Linked DNA regions of Homo sapiens: all the other regions are linked to region 2. Evidence: promoter capture Hi-C in 16 types of primary human blood cells and fetal thymus (Javierre and others, 2016). All regions are on one chromosome and are shown on one strand. Each heading gives the region's core, a stretch centred on a gene start or on the middle of the fragment in contact. The rest is flanking DNA. Distances are from core to core; before and after follow the strand shown. Region 1 has its middle 24 kb from the start of PIP. Region 2 holds the start of OR9A2 (olfactory receptor family 9 subfamily A member 2). Region 3 has its middle 16 kb from the start of PIP. Region 4 holds the start of PIP (prolactin induced protein).

Region 1 (4,333 bases), core at 1,007-3,506, 81 kb before region 2:
CTGGGGATTTGATGACAGGTTGGCTAAACATATATATTTAAGAGGTTACAGAAGAAGCTATGTGTCATGTGTGTGAAGAGACCACCAACAGGCTTTGTGTGAGCAACAAGGCTGTTTATTTCACCTGGGTGCAGGTGGCCTGAGTCCAAAAAAGGAGTCAGCAAAGGGTGGTGGGATTATCATTAGTTCTATAGGTTTGGGATAGGCGTACAAAGTACATTCTTAAGGGTGGGGGAGAATATTACGAAGTACCTTTTTAAGGGTTGGGGAGACTATATCTTATCAGTTAGGGTGGGGCAGGAACAAATCACAGTGGTGGAATGTCATCAGTTAAGGCTATTTTCCCTTCTTTTGTGGATCTTCAGTTGCTTCAGGCCATCTGGATGTATACGTGCAGGTCACAGGGGATATGACGGCTTAGCTTGGGATCAGAGGCCTGACATTCCTGTCTTATATTAATAAAAAACAAAACAAAACAAAATAGTGGTGAAGTGTTGGGGTGGTGAAAATTTTGGGGGGTAGTATGGAGAGATAATGGGTGATGTTTCTCAGGGCTGCTTCCAGCGGGATTAGGGGTGGCATGGGAACCTACAGTAGGAGAGATTAAACTGAAGAAAGGCTTTGGGGTAAGGGGTGATATTGTGGGGTTGTTAGAAGGAGCGTTTGTCCTATAGAATTATTGGTGATGGCCTGGATGCAGTTTTGTATGAATTGAGAAACTAAACAGAAGACACAAGGCACGAATAAAAGAAGGAGAAAAGTAGGTATTAAAGGATTAAGAATTGGGAGTACCCAGGACATCCAATTAGAGAGTGTCCAGAGGGGTTCAGTGTTAATTATTTGCTTGGTTGGCAAGTTTTTGGGCTCTATCCTTGAGTTTTTTGATACTGTTTACCAGGCCAGACTGATTTAGGTAAAAACAACACTCTTCATTTAAAAATATACAGAGTCCCCCTTTTTTTTTAGCAGTGAGTAAGTCAGGGCCTTGGCGAGTTTTGAGGAAAGAGAAATGCAAAGCCAGCAATTGTTTGTTAAAGAAGGATTAGAAACGGGTAGGAGAGAGTGAGTGAGATTGATAGTGTGGTGGAGATAGCTGGGGAGAGGTAGAGGGTGGCATAAGAACAGGAACGAGAATAAGAGTGAGTATAAAAGTAAAGAATAGGACTTCATCAGGGTGAAAGTATTGGAGTGTGTCCTGTCAGCAAAGATTGTCTGTGCACTCCAAGAGGCAGTCAAGAGTGGCGGGTTGGGGATAAATTTTCATGATGGAAAGGAAACGAGAGGTTTTAAGAGGTGGGCTAACAGCTTGTAACCTACATGGAAGAGGTTATGAAATGACGACAGAATAGAATGGGCCTGTGAGGCTGGAAGGAGATTTTTTTTTGGTCTAAGAACCATCTGCCTTGAGTGGAGAGGGATTGATAGGTGGAAACTTCAGTAAGAGAGTAAATAGGCATGACCAATGAGATGGAGAAAAACTGGCTATGAGGGACAGAAGTTGGAACACTAGCTGCTTCTTTAGCTACCTTATCAGCATAAGCATTGCCCTGAGTGATGGGATCTGATGCCTTTTTGATGGCCCTTGCAGTGAATGACTCCAGCTTCCTTGGAAGTAAAGCAGCTTTAAGAAGAGTTTTTATTAAGGAGGCATTAATGATGGAGGACACTTGTGTAGTGAGGAAATTTCCTTCTGCCCATATAACAGCATGGTGGTGCAGGATATGGAAGGCATATTTAGAGTCAGTATAAACATTGATGCGTAGTCCCTTTGCAAGAGTGAAGGCCTGAGTTAAGGCAATGAGTTCAACTTGCTGAGAGGTAGTGGAGAGGGGCAGAGCAGTAACCTCAGTGATAGATGTGGAAGACACTATAGCACACCCTGCCTTTGCTGGTGAGTGGCGATTAGGCCTGGTGGAATTGCCATCAATAAACCAAGTGTGATCAGTGTGAGGAACAGGAAAGAAGGAAATATGGGGAAATGGAGTGAATGTCAGGTGGATCAGAGAGATACAGTCATGGGGATCAGGTGTGGCATCTGGGATAATGTGGGAGGCCAGATTGAACTCTGGGCCAGGAACAATGGTAATTGTAGGAGACTCAACAAGAGTGAGTATAGCTGAAGGAGCTGGGGGGCAGAAAGTATATGTGTCAAGTGTGAGGAGGAAAATAGATTTTGAAAGTTATGGGAACTGTAGAGAGTAAGTGGAGTATAGCTTGTGATTTTGAGGGGCTTTAAAAGTATTAAAGCAGCGGCAGCCACTTCACGCAGACATGAGGGCTAGGCTAAAACAGTAAAGTCAAGTTGTTTGGACAGAAAGGCTACAGGGCACAGTCCCAGCTCTTGTGTAAGAATTCTGACTGCGCAGCCCTGTACTTTGGCTGTGTGTAATGAAAAGGGTTGGGATGAATTAAGGAGAGCTAGTGTGGGAGCAGCTTTTAGGGCTGTTTTTTAAGGAATGGAAAGGGGAGTGGGGAAAGGATTTAGGATTTATGGGGTCAGCTAGGTTTATCTAGAACAGAATAATGGGTTGTAGAGGGAGGTATTGAGGATAGGAGAGTATATGTATTTGGCACCACAGGGTGGATAGGCAAGACAGTTTGGTTGATAAGGCGCAGATCCTGAACTAACCTGTAAGACTTGTCTGGTTTTTGGATAGGTAAAATGGGGGAATTGTAAGGAGAGTTTATAGGCTTTAGAAGCCCATGCTGTAGCAGGAGAGTGATAACAGGCTTTAATCTTTTTAAAGTGTGCTGTGGGATGGGATATTGGCATTGAGCAGGGTAAGGGTGATTACGTTTTAATGGGATGGTAAGGTGTGCATGATCAGTCACGAAGGAGGGAGTAGAGGTGTCCTATACTTGTGGATTAAGGTGGGGAGATACAAGGGGAGGATGTGAAGGAGGCTTTGAACTGAGGAAAAAGGTGGCAATGAGGTGTGGCTGTAGCCTAGGAATAGTCAGGGAAGCAGATAATTTAGTTAAAATGTTTCGACCTAATAAGGGAGCTGGGCAGGTAGGGATAACTAAAAAGGATTGTATAAAAGAACATTGTCCAAGTTGGCACCAGAGTTGGGGAGTTTTAAAAGGTTTAAAGCCTCTTGTCAATACTCACAACAGTTATGGAGGCAAGGGAAACATGCCCTTGAAAAGAAGGTAATGTGGAGTGGGTAGCCTCCATATTGATTAAGAAGGGGACAGACTTACCCTCCACTGTAAGAGTTACCCAAAGCATCTGTGATGGTCCTGTAGGCTTCCAAGGTGATTGGGCAGCATCAGTCTTCAGCCACTAAGCCGAGATCTGGGAAGGAGTCAATCAGAGATCCTTGGGCCAGAGTTCTAGGGGCTCTGGGAATGGCTGCTGGGTGAGTTGGACAGTCTGATTTCCAGTGGGGTCCTGCACAGATGGGACACAGCTTAGGAGGAGTCCTGGGCTGCAGGCATTCCTTGGCCCAGTGGCCAGATTTCCGGCACTTGAAGCAAGATCCTGGGGGAGGTGGTCCTGGAGGAATGCCTTGCCCCTGCGGTTTAGGCATTTTGAAGTTCTTGTGTGCTGGAGATGTGGCTGGGTTTCTCTCACAGTGGAGGCAAGTAATTGCAACTCTTCTCTATTATTGTACCCCTTGAAGGTGAGATCAATTAAGTGCTGTTGTGGGGTTGAGGGCCAGAATCTAATTTTTGGAGCTTTTTCTAATGTCGGGAGTGGGTTGGGTAGTAAAATGCATATTGAGAATAAGACAGACTTCAGGCCCCTCTGTGTCTAGGGTGGTAAAGTGTCTAAGGCTTGTTGCCAAATGGGCCATGGACTGGGCTGGGTTTTCATATTTGATGAAAAAGAGCCTAAATGCTAACTGATTTGGGAGAGGTCGGATAAAGAAAAAGGAGCATTAACCTTGGCTATGCCTTCAGCTTCAGCCACTCTCTAAGAGGAAATTGTTGGGCAGGTCGGGGAGGGCTAGTCATGGAATGAAGCTGTAAGCCAGACTGGGTGTGAGGAGGGGAGGTAATAGAAGGGTTATAGGGTGAGGGAGCGGAGGCTGAAAAAGAGTTGGGACCTGGCTTGGCCTGGCAAGGAGCAGCCTGGGGAGGAGGGGAAAGGTCAGATGGGTCTGTAGAAAAGGAGGATTCACAGGACTCAGAGCTTGGGGTGGAGACTGAAGGAACAGACAGGAGAGAAAGAAGAAAGATTTGGGACGAGTCGCATTGGGAACAGAGACTAGGGAGGGACCAATGTGTAAAAGAATGCCTGGCTGCCTGTACGCCAGGCACCTCAGACCATTTGCCCATTTTTCAACAAAAATTATCTAGATATTGTAAAATGGAGAAATCAAAAGTG
Region 2 (4,090 bases), core at 838-3,337:
TAAAAGCATTTTAGGATGGGACATCCTGGGCCTGCCTATCTTCTAGAACAAAGTCACCCAGATATTGAAGTGTGGGCTAGGGGAGCAGTAGAGTGTATAGGCTCATCTCCAGACCCTTCCTGCATAGCAGAGAGCACTTCCGGCTCCTCTTGGACCCAATGCTAACACAGTCACGGCTCCCTGACAGTCGGTGTCCTTCTCGCTCATGTTTCTTCATCTCGTGCTGGTTATGCAGAGGTTGTGGAAAACCAGAACACTGAGCTTTCCCATCAATTCTGTCCCTGAAGCTTTTTAAACCATTAGTAAAACAGTGACGTAGACAGGGAAGGGGTTACCTAAGCAAGGGAAGGGCAGGAGGGAAAATGGTAATGTGAGGCAGGAAGGAAAACCAACCAGAATAGGATTGAGGGAATGTGGCCCAGGCCCTGGCCAGAACAAGTATTATTTAATCATATATTATCCATCCATCCATCCATACCTCATCTAGCAAAATTTGTCAGCACTACTTATTTTATGTATATGATACATATATCTTATGTATTTAAATATCTTATAAATAAAAAATATATGTATATTTTATATAATATAAGATATATTTCATATATCTTATTTCATATATCTTATATAAATAAGATAAATAATATAAGATAATAATATAATATAAGGTGTGGTAGTTAGCTGTGTGAGTGATGAAATCTGACAGACCTAGGTTCAAATCTTGACTCACACAGCTATTAGTTCGGTTACCTTGTGATAAATTAATACATAATTTAATATATAAGATATATCTATGATATATTCATTTCACATAATGTATCTGTCTATATCTATATAAAAGATATATGATATATATATATAAAATATATAACTACTTAATTTATGTATGTACATTTTATGTGCCAGCCTCAGAATACAACAGTGAAGACATGTCCTAGCCCTCATGGAGTTTATATTCTAATGCCGTTGATAAATAATAAATACACTTAAATTTCCTCTCCTTCTTTCTTGCTTATTTTTTTCCCTGTGACATGATAAGCAAACTAAACTATTGCATATTTTACTTAGGTGTCTTGTGTGTGGTCTAGCCCCCACCTCTTCCTTGAATATAAGCTCCACAGGGCATGGAATTTTCTTTGTTCTGTTCATGACTACATTTGTTTATTGTTAAATAAAGGAATGAAGTAAATAATTAGACATAATACAAGGTAATAACAACTGTTATTAAAAAAATGGAAGTCCAATAATAAGTGTGTCTTTTCTGTTTTGGGCAGAGTGATTGGAAAGAGTCTTTGGAAAGGGTGACATTTGAATAATGGAATGAAGCGACAGGCAGAGAGCCAGGCATCCTTAACAGCTGGCGGTCCCAGATCTATTCCTTTTCTGTGCCAGGTGCCATCTTTCCTTCCTCCCACAACTTTGGAAGGAAAATGGAATTAGAGAAGAATGGATCTGTTCTGGGAAATTATCCCAAGCTCTAGAGTTCTCATTTAGAGATCTTGCTGTTCTGTAAAATGGAGATTTTAAAATCTGGAACAGCAGAGATGTTAGTCTTACATCCTCTGCCTCCTTTCTGCTGGCCCCAAAGGTGGGTCTATGCATTACCATTACAGATGAGAGCTGGGGTTTAAAATTCTGTCCTTTGAACATCATATAAAATGCCTTTGTGTCATCTTGCACAGTTAACCTAAGAGAAAGTAACTCCAGGACCGGAGGGACCTGATTGACTCACCTTTAAAACTGGCCTATTTAAAAGGTCTTAGCCTCTGCCCCCGAGAGAAGGTATATTTAATGGGGAAAAAGGCAAGGAAGGTATTTCACCACCAGTAGAAGAAGATGTCTTCACCCATTCTAGGGGGCTGGTTACACAGGGAAGTGAGAGCCTCACTTGTAGACTTGGGATGACAACATGTACCTCAAGCTATGTATGTGCCGACCACAGTAGCAGGGACATGTCACCTGATTCTCAGGTTGGAAATAGTTTCTTAACCTAATTTTTCTTCCTTCTCTCTTGAGAGCAGGACCATGTGGAGCAATGCCACCTCTCTTTTAATCTCTGGGCTTCAAAACAAGCAGAATCAAGGACTAAATGATGGACAACCACTCTAGTGCCACTGAATTCCACCTTCTAGGCTTCCCTGGGTCCCAAGGACTACACCACATTCTTTTTGCTATATTCTTTTTCTTCTATTTAGTGACATTAATGGGAAACACGGTCATCATTGTGATTGTCTGTGTGGATAAACGTCTGCAGTCCCCCATGTATTTCTTCCTCAGCCACCTCTCTACCCTGGAGATCCTGGTCACAACCATAATTGTCCCCATGATGCTTTGGGGATTGCTCTTCCTGGGATGCAGACAGTATCTTTCTCTACATGTATCGCTCAACTTTTCCTGTGGGACCATGGAGTTTGCATTACTTGGAGTGATGGCTGTGGACCGTTATGTGGCTGTGTGTAACCCTTTGAGGTACAACATCATTATGAACAGCAGTACCTGTATTTGGGTGGTAATAGTGTCATGGGTGTTTGGATTTCTTTCTGAAATCTGGCCCATCTATGCCACATTTCAGTTTACCTTCCGCAAATCAAATTCATTAGACCATTTTTACTGTGACCGAGGGCAATTGCTCAAACTGTCCTGCGATAACACTCTTCTCACAGAGTTTATCCTTTTCTTAATGGCTGTTTTTATTCTCATTGGTTCTTTGATCCCTACGATTGTCTCCTACACCTACATTATCTCCACCATCCTCAAGATCCCGTCAGCCTCTGGCCGGAGGAAAGCCTTCTCCACTTTTGCCTCCCACTTCACCTGTGTTGTGATTGGCTATGGCAGCTGCTTGTTTCTCTACGTGAAACCCAAGCAAACACAGGGAGTTGAGTACAATAAGATAGTTTCCCTGTTGGTTTCTGTGTTAACCCCCTTCCTGAATCCTTTCATCTTTACTCTTCGGAATGACAAAGTCAAAGAGGCCCTCCGAGATGGGATGAAACGCTGCTGTCAACTCCTGAAAGATTAGCTGTTCTGTAAGTCAGTTTTAGGTGGTCCAAGCCTCAGGGTTAATTATTAAGTCACCTAGAAAATTCTAACTCCTCTTTTCTCTTATCCTCTCATTACAAAAGTCAAAGAGTGTGTACAATTCGCCATCACACCATGGAAGTAGATTAGGCTGGTAATAATGAAATCCATTGTCTGTCCAGGAGACTCTCATAGCCTTAGTTCCTGCCTGTTTCCACTGTTGAACATATTCTTGTGATTTGGGGGGGACTAGAGAAAGGAAATGCAGACATTTTTGTAAGAATTCTATTAGCCCAACTCATTTCCTCATAGTCCATCTCTGAAAATGTATTTTCTGGGGAAGGGAGGAAGTGTGGAGGGAGGTGTACTGAGAAAGGTGTCCTAATCAGAGTAGAAAGGTAGAGATGCTCACTTTGGTCCTTCATCACCTGTTGCTAAGTTCTTCCCTATATTTTTGTGCAATTTTTTGGCAAGATGGCCATATGCATTTTAGATATCCTAAAGCTCTTTCTCTCTGCCCCATTGATACTGGAAAGGAAGTGTAACACTGTTTACGTTTTGTCACAGAACCAGTCTAGAATGGCGATATGAGGATTGGAATGCTTCTCATTCAGGAGATATTTGTGGTGTAAAGAAGATAAAAATATTTGAGGATAAAAATGGAGGAAAATTTATTTTTGTTAAGCTTCAGCATATTCCTTTCACTGCCCTTCTTTGTGGTGAGTATAGGGACAGGGGCAAATAAGAACTAAATGACTAATTCTAGAGAGCATCCTGTATTTTATGGCTGTTAAACACAACTATGTCTGTTCAGACTGTATCCAGATCTAGACTTCAAACTTTATAATGTCTTTTGATTCTCCGTCTCTCAAATCCAACAGTCTCAGTACCATCATGTGTATCTTCTCTGTGGGCAGAATTTTTTAAAAATAAGAGGCCATTCTTTTGACTCCCGGCTTTCTAGAAATTATAGGGATTGGCTGTTTGGTAGTGTAACTGTTGGAATTTCACATAATATTGGAAGAAGTCCTTATAAGGAAGAAGTTTACCTAAACAACAACAATCAGCAGAT
Region 3 (4,276 bases), core at 130-2,629, 120 kb before region 2:
TATTTTTTATGGCTGCATAGTATTCCATGGTGTCTATGTGCCACATTTTCTTTATCCAATCCACCATCAATGGGCGCTTAGTTGATTCCATGTCTTTAATATTGTGAATAGCATGGTGGTGAACATATCAAGTGGCCATTTGGTGTAATGGTCTATTTTCCTTTCGGTATGTACCCAGTAATGGGATTGCTGGGTTGAATGGTGGCTCAATTTTAAGTTCTTTGAGAAATCTTCAAACTGCTTTTCAAAGTGGCTGAACCAATTTACATTCCCATGAAAAGTGTGTAAACATTCCCTTTTCTCTGCAGCTTCACTAGCTTCTGTTATTTTTTGACTTTTTAGTAGTAGCCATTCTTACTGGTGTAAGATGGTATCTCATTGTGGTTTTGATTTGTGTTTCTCTGTCCATCTTTCTTTTCATCTGCATTTGGATTGCTTTCCTCTCATTTCTTTTTTTTCCTCTTCCTAATCTCCCCACTGCTACCCTCCCCTCATGAATTAGAGTCCTGACCCTATGGTTAAAAGCCTCCACTCATTCATCTTTTTCATAACACAATTTCTTCAACTTCAAAATGGAATTGATAACATGTACATTCCTAACAGAGTTGTTCTGAGGTTCAAGGCTAATGTACACAAAATCATGTGTAGGTGAAGCATTTGGCAAGATGTTAAACTGTTTCACATACAATCAGTAATGACGACCAATGTTCTTTATTGTGATATTTCTCTTCTCTTTCCCACCAACCTTCCCTCCAATTCTTCAGTTACCTCCACATATTTATACCTATTGTTATTTGTAACCATGAGTGTTAGCAAAAATATTTCCTCTGGCTTTACAGATTCAGGGATTGTCATGCTCAGAAAAATTATGTTCTGTCTGTATATGCCAAAAGAAGGAGAAACCCAAAGTCAGGGAAAGTGTAGGACAGGGGTGTCCCAGGAGGGAGAATGGAAGCAGGAGGACAGAGTGAACAGAGGGGTGCAGGGAGTGAGGAAGCACATAAGTCAATGCTGTCACTCATAAGGATCCTCTGTGCATGACTTGTGCCTGTGGGCTCTGTGTGTCCAGCCAAGATGCCCCTATCTGATAGGAAGGGGAAATGGAGGCCAGAGGAAAAGAGGTCATATTCCTGGTGGACTGATGAGGGCAGGGAGCCAGACTGAGGGACTGCTTTTCCTTCATCATGGATACTCAGTTGAATCTCCACCATGTTGTTTGAAGCAGGAAGTGATTTGGTTGCATGGTCTACTTTAGCCTGAGATTCTCCTTTTGATTTTTCTTATGGAATCATCCCCAAATCCATGAAAGTTCATTTTCTTATACTGGTATAACTAGTAGAAGGATAAGAAATTCTATGAGTCTGATAAACATATCACACCAATGAATTAAAGTTTAACATAATGATCAACATAGTTCAACTTTGTCCAACTCACTAAGTAGAGGGGAAACTAAGTAGAAGTTTAGTCAACCAAAACCCAGCACACACACATTTTGTGTTACTCCATATATCCACCCCCACATCCTCTTTGCTTCTCTTCTCCTTAGAGAAACATCCAGGCTTGGCAAGAACCCCTTCTTCACCAAAATCTCCATGGCTCCATTTCCATCTGCTAGATACTCCTTTCTCCACATTCTGTCTGCTACACGTCCATGTCTCCTAAGGACCTGCTGGCTTCATTCTGGATCTTAGTACTTTGCTCTTGCCAAGGGACAGAGTCCCGTTTCAATGTTCTCCTTTCCACTTAAGGAACTGGAATCTGTCATTTCTTTTCCTCCGTTTTGGCAAATCAGTATAGACCTGGAGACCAGCTGTGTCGCATTTATGCAAGGACATGTTGCATTTAGGAACAAATCCAGGAAAAGGTGGAGTCCAGGAGCATGTTTCTACTTTTTCCTTACTTAGAGAAACCTGCTCAGGTCTTGTAGGTCCCAGCCCCAGTGTATGACACAGATCTTAATGAGATAGAGAGCACTGTTTCCAATGAGACCAATTGTATGAGTTAGTGGTCAGCACAACCTTGTAACCCCAGTAAAGACCAGGGCCATGGCCCCTCTCTTGCAGCTCAGGCATCTTATCCAAAGCTCATCCCACAGGTATTGATTAAGCCCACATCTCTGCCCATGCTTTTCATTTAGGAGAAAATGATGCCAATGATAAACTTAGGATAGAAAAATGAATTAAAATACAAGTAGTAATAAGACATGAATGCAGTAACCCCCACAATAGGATCTGAATAGGAAAAGAGTGAGACTAAGAGACATCTTTAGTGAGAATACCCAGAATGTGTCCCCTTTGGAGTGGTAAAATAATCCCTAGGGGCACCATATTGATTTCTGGGTTGGGAGATGTGTCCCCGTTGGAAGATTTTCTGCAACAAGGAGAAAGTGGTGGCTTACAATTCTTCCTGAGCTATGCTGGTCCCCAGCCTCAGGCAGAGAACCAGGAGCAGGGCAACAAGACAGGGCTTGAACAGAATCTGAAGAGCATGCATGCTGGAGAAATTTGATGCCCAGAGAACTGTGCACCCAGGCACCCAAATTATTCTTCATAACTACAGCAAGAGAACATTGTGACATTTGGGCAGGCCACTCAACCAAAATCATCAGACCTTGAAACTTCCCTAATTACCACCATGAATTTTTTTCTTGGAGAAATGTCAACATTCAGCTGGAATTTTACATTGGAATGGAATGAGGAAAGAATTAGTTCAGTTGTTTTCCCTTGTTTGCCAATATCAGATTAGAATGTTCCTGGAACAGCAGGATGGATTCTGCCTTAACTTTTCTAAACAGCATCTTTTTCACTTCTATTTCCCAATACTTGCTCTGGGTCTGTAGGATCTATGAAATGTATATTCTTATCTTTTTGTCCTCTAGATGACATGGTGTCTTATCTTTCTACCAATGCCAGTTACTTCAACTCTAAATTTTACTCTAGTTGAGTGAATGACTTGACACTAATGTTCCTACTCAGCCCTCCTGGTTTGCATCTTCAGGTACAATGAGTCTTCTGTAAGAAATGATAGCCCTCTATAGAGTATAGAGTATGTTTCATGAGAATTCAAGCCTCAGAAATAGGAAAAAATCAGATGAGAAGAGGGTAGACCAGATATTTTTGGTATCTATTTCTTAAGATACTGTCAGTAAGCAAGACCTTTCTGTGTATTGGCCCCTCTAAGGGGGCTTGGGTTTAAATTATATGTGTGGGAGCTGCAATCCTGAAGCTTCTTAGGAAAGGTCCTGTTGTCCCAGGTCTCCATTTTTCTAGCTTTGGTTACTGCTCAGCCTGCTTCCTCTTGCTGGAAATTCAGATGTTGGGGCAGTTGTCAGAATCCATCTTTGAAGGACCCTGTGATCATCTCTAGTCATCTGCAGGAGAACATGTGGTCTTAAGAACGTCTTAGAAAGCTAAGACGACTAGAGAACCCATGGAATTGCCCACCTAACATCCAAGTGGGAGAACCATATCAGATGGCGAGGTGAAGTCCAAGGGTGGATGAGTTGGGACAGCTGTGCTCTTACCCCTGTAGAGTCTTTCCAGAGAACTAGAGTGCTGAAACTAACAAGGTCCTTGAGATGCCTTAAGGTGACAGCAAGACCAGGGAGGGCTGCTTCCATCCATTCATTTTGAATTTTCTACAAGATTCACCATGCATTGAGAGGGCCAGCTCCCAAATACCAGGTGCTATGCAGCAGGTCTTCTCTTACTTGGATTACTCTGCTATTTATCCCTATGTTTTTCAAACTCATTAAACTAATTTCTCTTCTCCTTTCCTCCCTCCCTTCCTTCCATTCATTTATTACTTATTCAAAAATATTATTATTATTATTTTTGAGACAAAGTCATGCTCTGTCACCTGGGCTAGAGTGCACTGCTGTGCCTGCCACCATGCCTGGCTAATATTTGTTTTTTTAGTAGAGACGGGGTTTCACCATCTTGGCCAGGCTGGTCTCAAACTCTGGACCTGGTGATCCACTCGCCCCAGCCTCCCAAAGTGCTGGGATTACAGGCGTGAGCCACCACGCCTGACCTAGTATTTCTTTACATCAGTGTACAGTTATACAATAAATACTATTATGTTCTTTAATTTCCATCACAAAATTTATCATATAATGTTCTATGACTCACTAGTTTCATTTGACACTGTGATTGAAGAAATTTCAATTTAGTACATCAGAGTGCCTTCAATCTTTTTAAAGCCATGTGTATTTATTCGGTTGTGTATATGAACCAGAATTAATTTAAGCAGTTTTTTTTATTGGTAGACACTGACT
Region 4 (3,973 bases), core at 9-2,508, 100 kb before region 2:
TCTCCCATTTGTATATGAGTTTCAGATTGATAGGATGACCAGCTTAGTTCGAGTGACTAACCATCTCAGTTTACCCAGGACTGAGGTCTTTTCCAGAATGGGTTGTGGAGGTGGCGGGGGAGGGCAGAGTTGCAGTGCTACAACCAGGAAAGTTCTGGGCAAATCAGGATGGATGGTTGATAACCTAATTAGCATAGCTTATTTGAATACCTTGCTGCCCTTCAGGGCTAAGTGGACTGTCATCTGGCGGGAATGGGGTGGGATCTGAACCTGTCCCCATGCAGGGTTTCTTGGGACACTTGCCTCCATTACATTAGCTTGTCAAAACCCTGAACAGTTTCCTCCAGGACAGGATATCTGACCATGCCATAGAGAGTACCTCCAAGATCACAACCCAGAAACCCAGCATTATAAACCCTACTGCTATAGAGAAAACTCCCTAGATTGGGTATCGCTGCTTTCTCCCAGACCCTTGGCTCCATTTTCTACTTTATTTTACTTGCTCCAATTTTTCTGCTTCCTTCACACATGTGTTCTCAATAAGTTGACTTCTGAACCTGTGCTCTCAGGTCCCAGTATACGTGAGAGCAAGAGGTCATCATATTCATCTTCAGACTTCAGGTTAGGAAGAATGTCTAAGCTGCCAGTCTAGCTCAATCTCAGACCACAGGGCAGTGGCCAGGGCCTCTGGTCCTTTAGCCAGTCCTGCCAAAGCTGCCCTAAGCTGCCATTGGAATTCACAGACCTGTTATGCTTCTCTTCTAGGAGGCAAGGTGTGAGAAGGTAAAGTTTACTGAGCAGAAATCTGAACAAAGGTATAAATTATGAACAAGATGTGGATCAGCATGTTAGATGAAGACTAACTACTAATTACAGCCTGTAGGTACATTTGGAGCTTTATTTCCACTGGCAATGCAGAAACACCCAGCAAAAATGTGAGAGGAGTTGGTGGGGCTTCCTAAGAGGACAAGAAGTGGAACCTGGCAGGAGATCCATGGGAGCTCCTGGGACTAGAGTTCTGGGAAGTTGAAAGAAATTCTCAGAAAGAGATATGTAATTTCCAGACTGGGAGAGGAGCCCTCCCTGCAATTTTTTTTGTGGGGAGGAGAAGGGCATGGCTCACGTGTTGTCCTGAGCTTTGTTGGCCCCCAACTGCAGGCAGAGAACCAGGAGCAGGGTGGCAGGGCTGGCCCTGAACAGGAGCTGGAGCAAGCGCATGCTGGAGAAAACAGAAGGCAATGTGTCCCAGAGAAGTGGTGTCCCAGGTGCCCAGCACATTTCTTATATACAGATTGATCAAGGAAGTGCAAGAGCTGCCAGGGAGATCCATGAGGTGAATCACCCATTCACCCTCCCCACTCGTGATCTTTCCTTGTTGACCCAAAGTTTGTTTTTCTAAGAAAAAATCAACACTCAGCTAGAATGTCAGCGTTTGAGAGAGGAGTCAGATTGTTCTTCCTTATTTTTTCAGCATCAGAGTTTCTCAAAATGGCTGGGACCTCAAAAGATACACCAGTTTTTCCCGAGTTTACAGATTCAGTTTTCTTTTCCCTCCTAATTTGCCTGTCTGAAGTGCTATGTGTAGTCTTAGCTTCAGTCACTGCTCCCCTGGTCTCTGAAAGCAGAGAACACAGCTGTGGTGGCAGGTTTCAGACCAGAGACATAGAACATCTTTGCTTGATCAAATTATAGTGAGTTCAAGATGCAATGCTATTCAAAACATTTCTTGGAGGGCTAGGATGATCAGGACTTCCCTAGCAGTCACTACCCATCATGAGGTGGAAGAGCTAGAGAAGACCTGAGCTGCTCTACATGATGGGGAAGTGAGTTCAAGACACTGGGTGATGTAAAGATGTTTATTGTCATTGAGTCCTTCTTAATTTCAGGTGTGGTTGCAATATACTGCAGATGTCCAAGATCCCCAGCTGCCCCACAATCCCCAAGGCAGGGTGATATTTTAATTCTAGACAATTCCTATAAATAGCTGGCACCCCCAAATCAGACTTCTTGGCACCAAAGAGCTGGCTTATTTTCTTATTGACATGGCCACTTTCTTACACTTGTCTCATGCGTAAGCCACACAGGAAGAACCACAGTGGAAAGGATTCCTTCTGTGAGAATGGAGCCCACATTATGTCCAGTAGATACCCAGGTTGTAGAATTCCTCTCCTTGGGATGATGGGGAGACTTGCTCTTGCTGACACTGGCATTGTGTTATTTCTCCTTATGAAATTAAATCTGCTCCTTAACCTATGACTTACAATACTATGGGATTTGTTTCTATCATTTGCATGGCACACAGCTGCCCAGGAAGAGCCTCTCTGGCAACAGAGTGAAAATCAGAGTTCTAGGAGTTACCGCCTCTGTATGTTGCTTTAGCCAGGATTCAGAGCTAAAGTGTAAGTGTGTGCTTCTGCTTTCTGGATGTATCTCTCAAAATTGCTCTGTCTGTTTATTCAGCTCCTGGATCTACCTTCTCTTTTCTTTGAATTGGACACCATTCATGTCATTGCTCACTCAGAACTTCAGCTGTTCTCATGATCACATGCTTTCTTCCCTGTTTATGTCCTATCCACTCAAGAACACTGCTTGTGAGGGTCACAATGACCTTCCTTTGTAAGCCTTTTCCCACAATTAAATTGTCTTTACACCTGGTCCTTCTCACTTGCATAATTTCCATTTGAAGCACATCCTAGCTACACTGACCAAGGCAGGCATAAGGCAGAAGAATCTAGGAAGTGTCTGTGTGGGAAAATGCAGGAAAAGTTCTTTGCTTGGCTCTTTGAAGGCATAGCCCTGTCCTTGAGGATGCAACTCCAGCACTCCCAAAAGGCAGTGTCCAGAGGAAGGCAGATGACGATGGGTTAAGAGCATCTATTGAAGGTAATGAGGCTGTTCTTCTGTGAGCTAGCAGGAAACTGCAATACCTACAATGTACAGGACAATCTTTTTTTTTTGAGACAGAATCTCACTCATCCAGGCTGGAGTGCAGTGGCATGATCTCAGCTCACTGCAGCCTCCACCTCCCGGGTTCAGGAAATTCTCATGCCTCAGCCACCCGAGTAGTGGGGATTATAGGCAGGTGCCACCATACCCGGCTAATTTTTGTATTTTTGGTAGAGATGGGGTTTCACCATGTTGGCCAAGCTGATCTTACATTCCTGACCTCAAGTGATCCACCTGCCTCGGCCTCCCAAATTGCTGGGATTACAGGTGTGAGCCACTGTGCCTGGCCTAGGACAAGTCTTATTCAGGCCATGACTGCTGTGATGGTTACTTTTATTTGTTAGCTTAGCTAGGCATGGTGCCCACTTTTTGGAAAAACAACAGTTTAGAAGTTGCTGTGAAGTTGTTGTTTGTTTGTTTGTTTTAAATGTGATTAACATTTAAATCAGTAAAATTTGAGTAAAACAGATTACCTCCATAATATGGGTCAGACTCATTGGATCAGTTGAAAGTCTTAAGAGAAAAGCTTGAGGTCCCTTGAGGAAGAAGATTAGGGAGAAAAAGAAACCATAATTATTATGCCATAAAGAATGAACAAGTCTAGGTTTAAGAAATCAGATAAAGGTTGATAAAATCAGATTGTAAACAACTCAGGAAGCTTACAGAAGAGAATGTGTATAGTCCCATAGGGAAAGAGTTAGAATATAGGTGAGGCTTGCCACAGGCTAAGTTTACAAAGAGAAAGATAATCTTAGTCCTGACAGGGCTCATGAGAAGAAGATAAGGAGTGGACAGAGAGGGAGTTATAGACACCAACACACATGAAGCATATGCTGTGTGCATTACACTGCTCTAAACATTTTAACATATATTAGCTCAATCTTTATTACAACCCTGTGAAGGTGGTTGCCATTTTTATTCCATTTTACAAGAGGAGAAACAGAGACCCAGGAGATAAATATCTAACCCAGACCATATAGCCAGTATATGGCAGAGTCAACTTTGCAAGCAGGTTTTGTGGAATCTG

What was found. The method cuts DNA at HindIII sites, captures the fragments that hold promoters and counts their contacts. A CHiCAGO score of 5 or more calls a contact.
Region 1: a contact is called between a fragment that was not itself captured here and the fragment with the promoter of OR9A2 in region 2, in 2 of 17 cell types (naive B cells and total B cells). The highest score is 5.2, in naive B cells.
Region 3: a contact is called between a fragment that was not itself captured here and the fragment with the promoter of OR9A2 in region 2, in 1 of 17 cell types (total B cells). The highest score is 5.1, in total B cells.
Region 4: a contact is called between the fragment with the promoter of PIP here and the fragment with the promoter of OR9A2 in region 2, in 15 of 17 cell types (total B cells, M2 macrophages, naive B cells and 12 more). The highest score is 18.0, in total B cells.

Annotation. Positions count from the first base shown.
Region 1 is chr7:143,106,234-143,110,566 of GRCh38, reverse strand. No RefSeq gene overlaps it. Among named protein-coding and RNA genes, the nearest start is that of PIP, 24 kb to the left of the region's middle. The HindIII fragment of the contact is 8,838 bases long and covers 1-4,333 here.
Region 2 is chr7:143,025,129-143,029,218 of GRCh38, reverse strand. OR9A2 (olfactory receptor family 9 subfamily A member 2) reads left to right here and starts at 2,087. Exons shown (of 1, transcript NM_001001658.1): 1 at 2,087-3,019. The coding sequence starts at 2,087. The coding sequence ends at 3,019. The HindIII fragment of the contact is 3,416 bases long and covers 290-3,705 here.
Region 3 is chr7:143,145,668-143,149,943 of GRCh38, reverse strand. No RefSeq gene overlaps it. Among named protein-coding and RNA genes, the nearest start is that of PIP, 16 kb to the right of the region's middle. The HindIII fragment of the contact is 3,696 bases long and covers 1-3,227 here.
Region 4 is chr7:143,129,362-143,133,334 of GRCh38, reverse strand. It overlaps PIP (prolactin induced protein), which reads right to left and starts at 1,258. Exons shown (of 4, transcript NM_002652.3): 1 at 1,124-1,258. The coding sequence starts at 1,218. The HindIII fragment of the contact is 4,172 bases long and covers 1-3,474 here.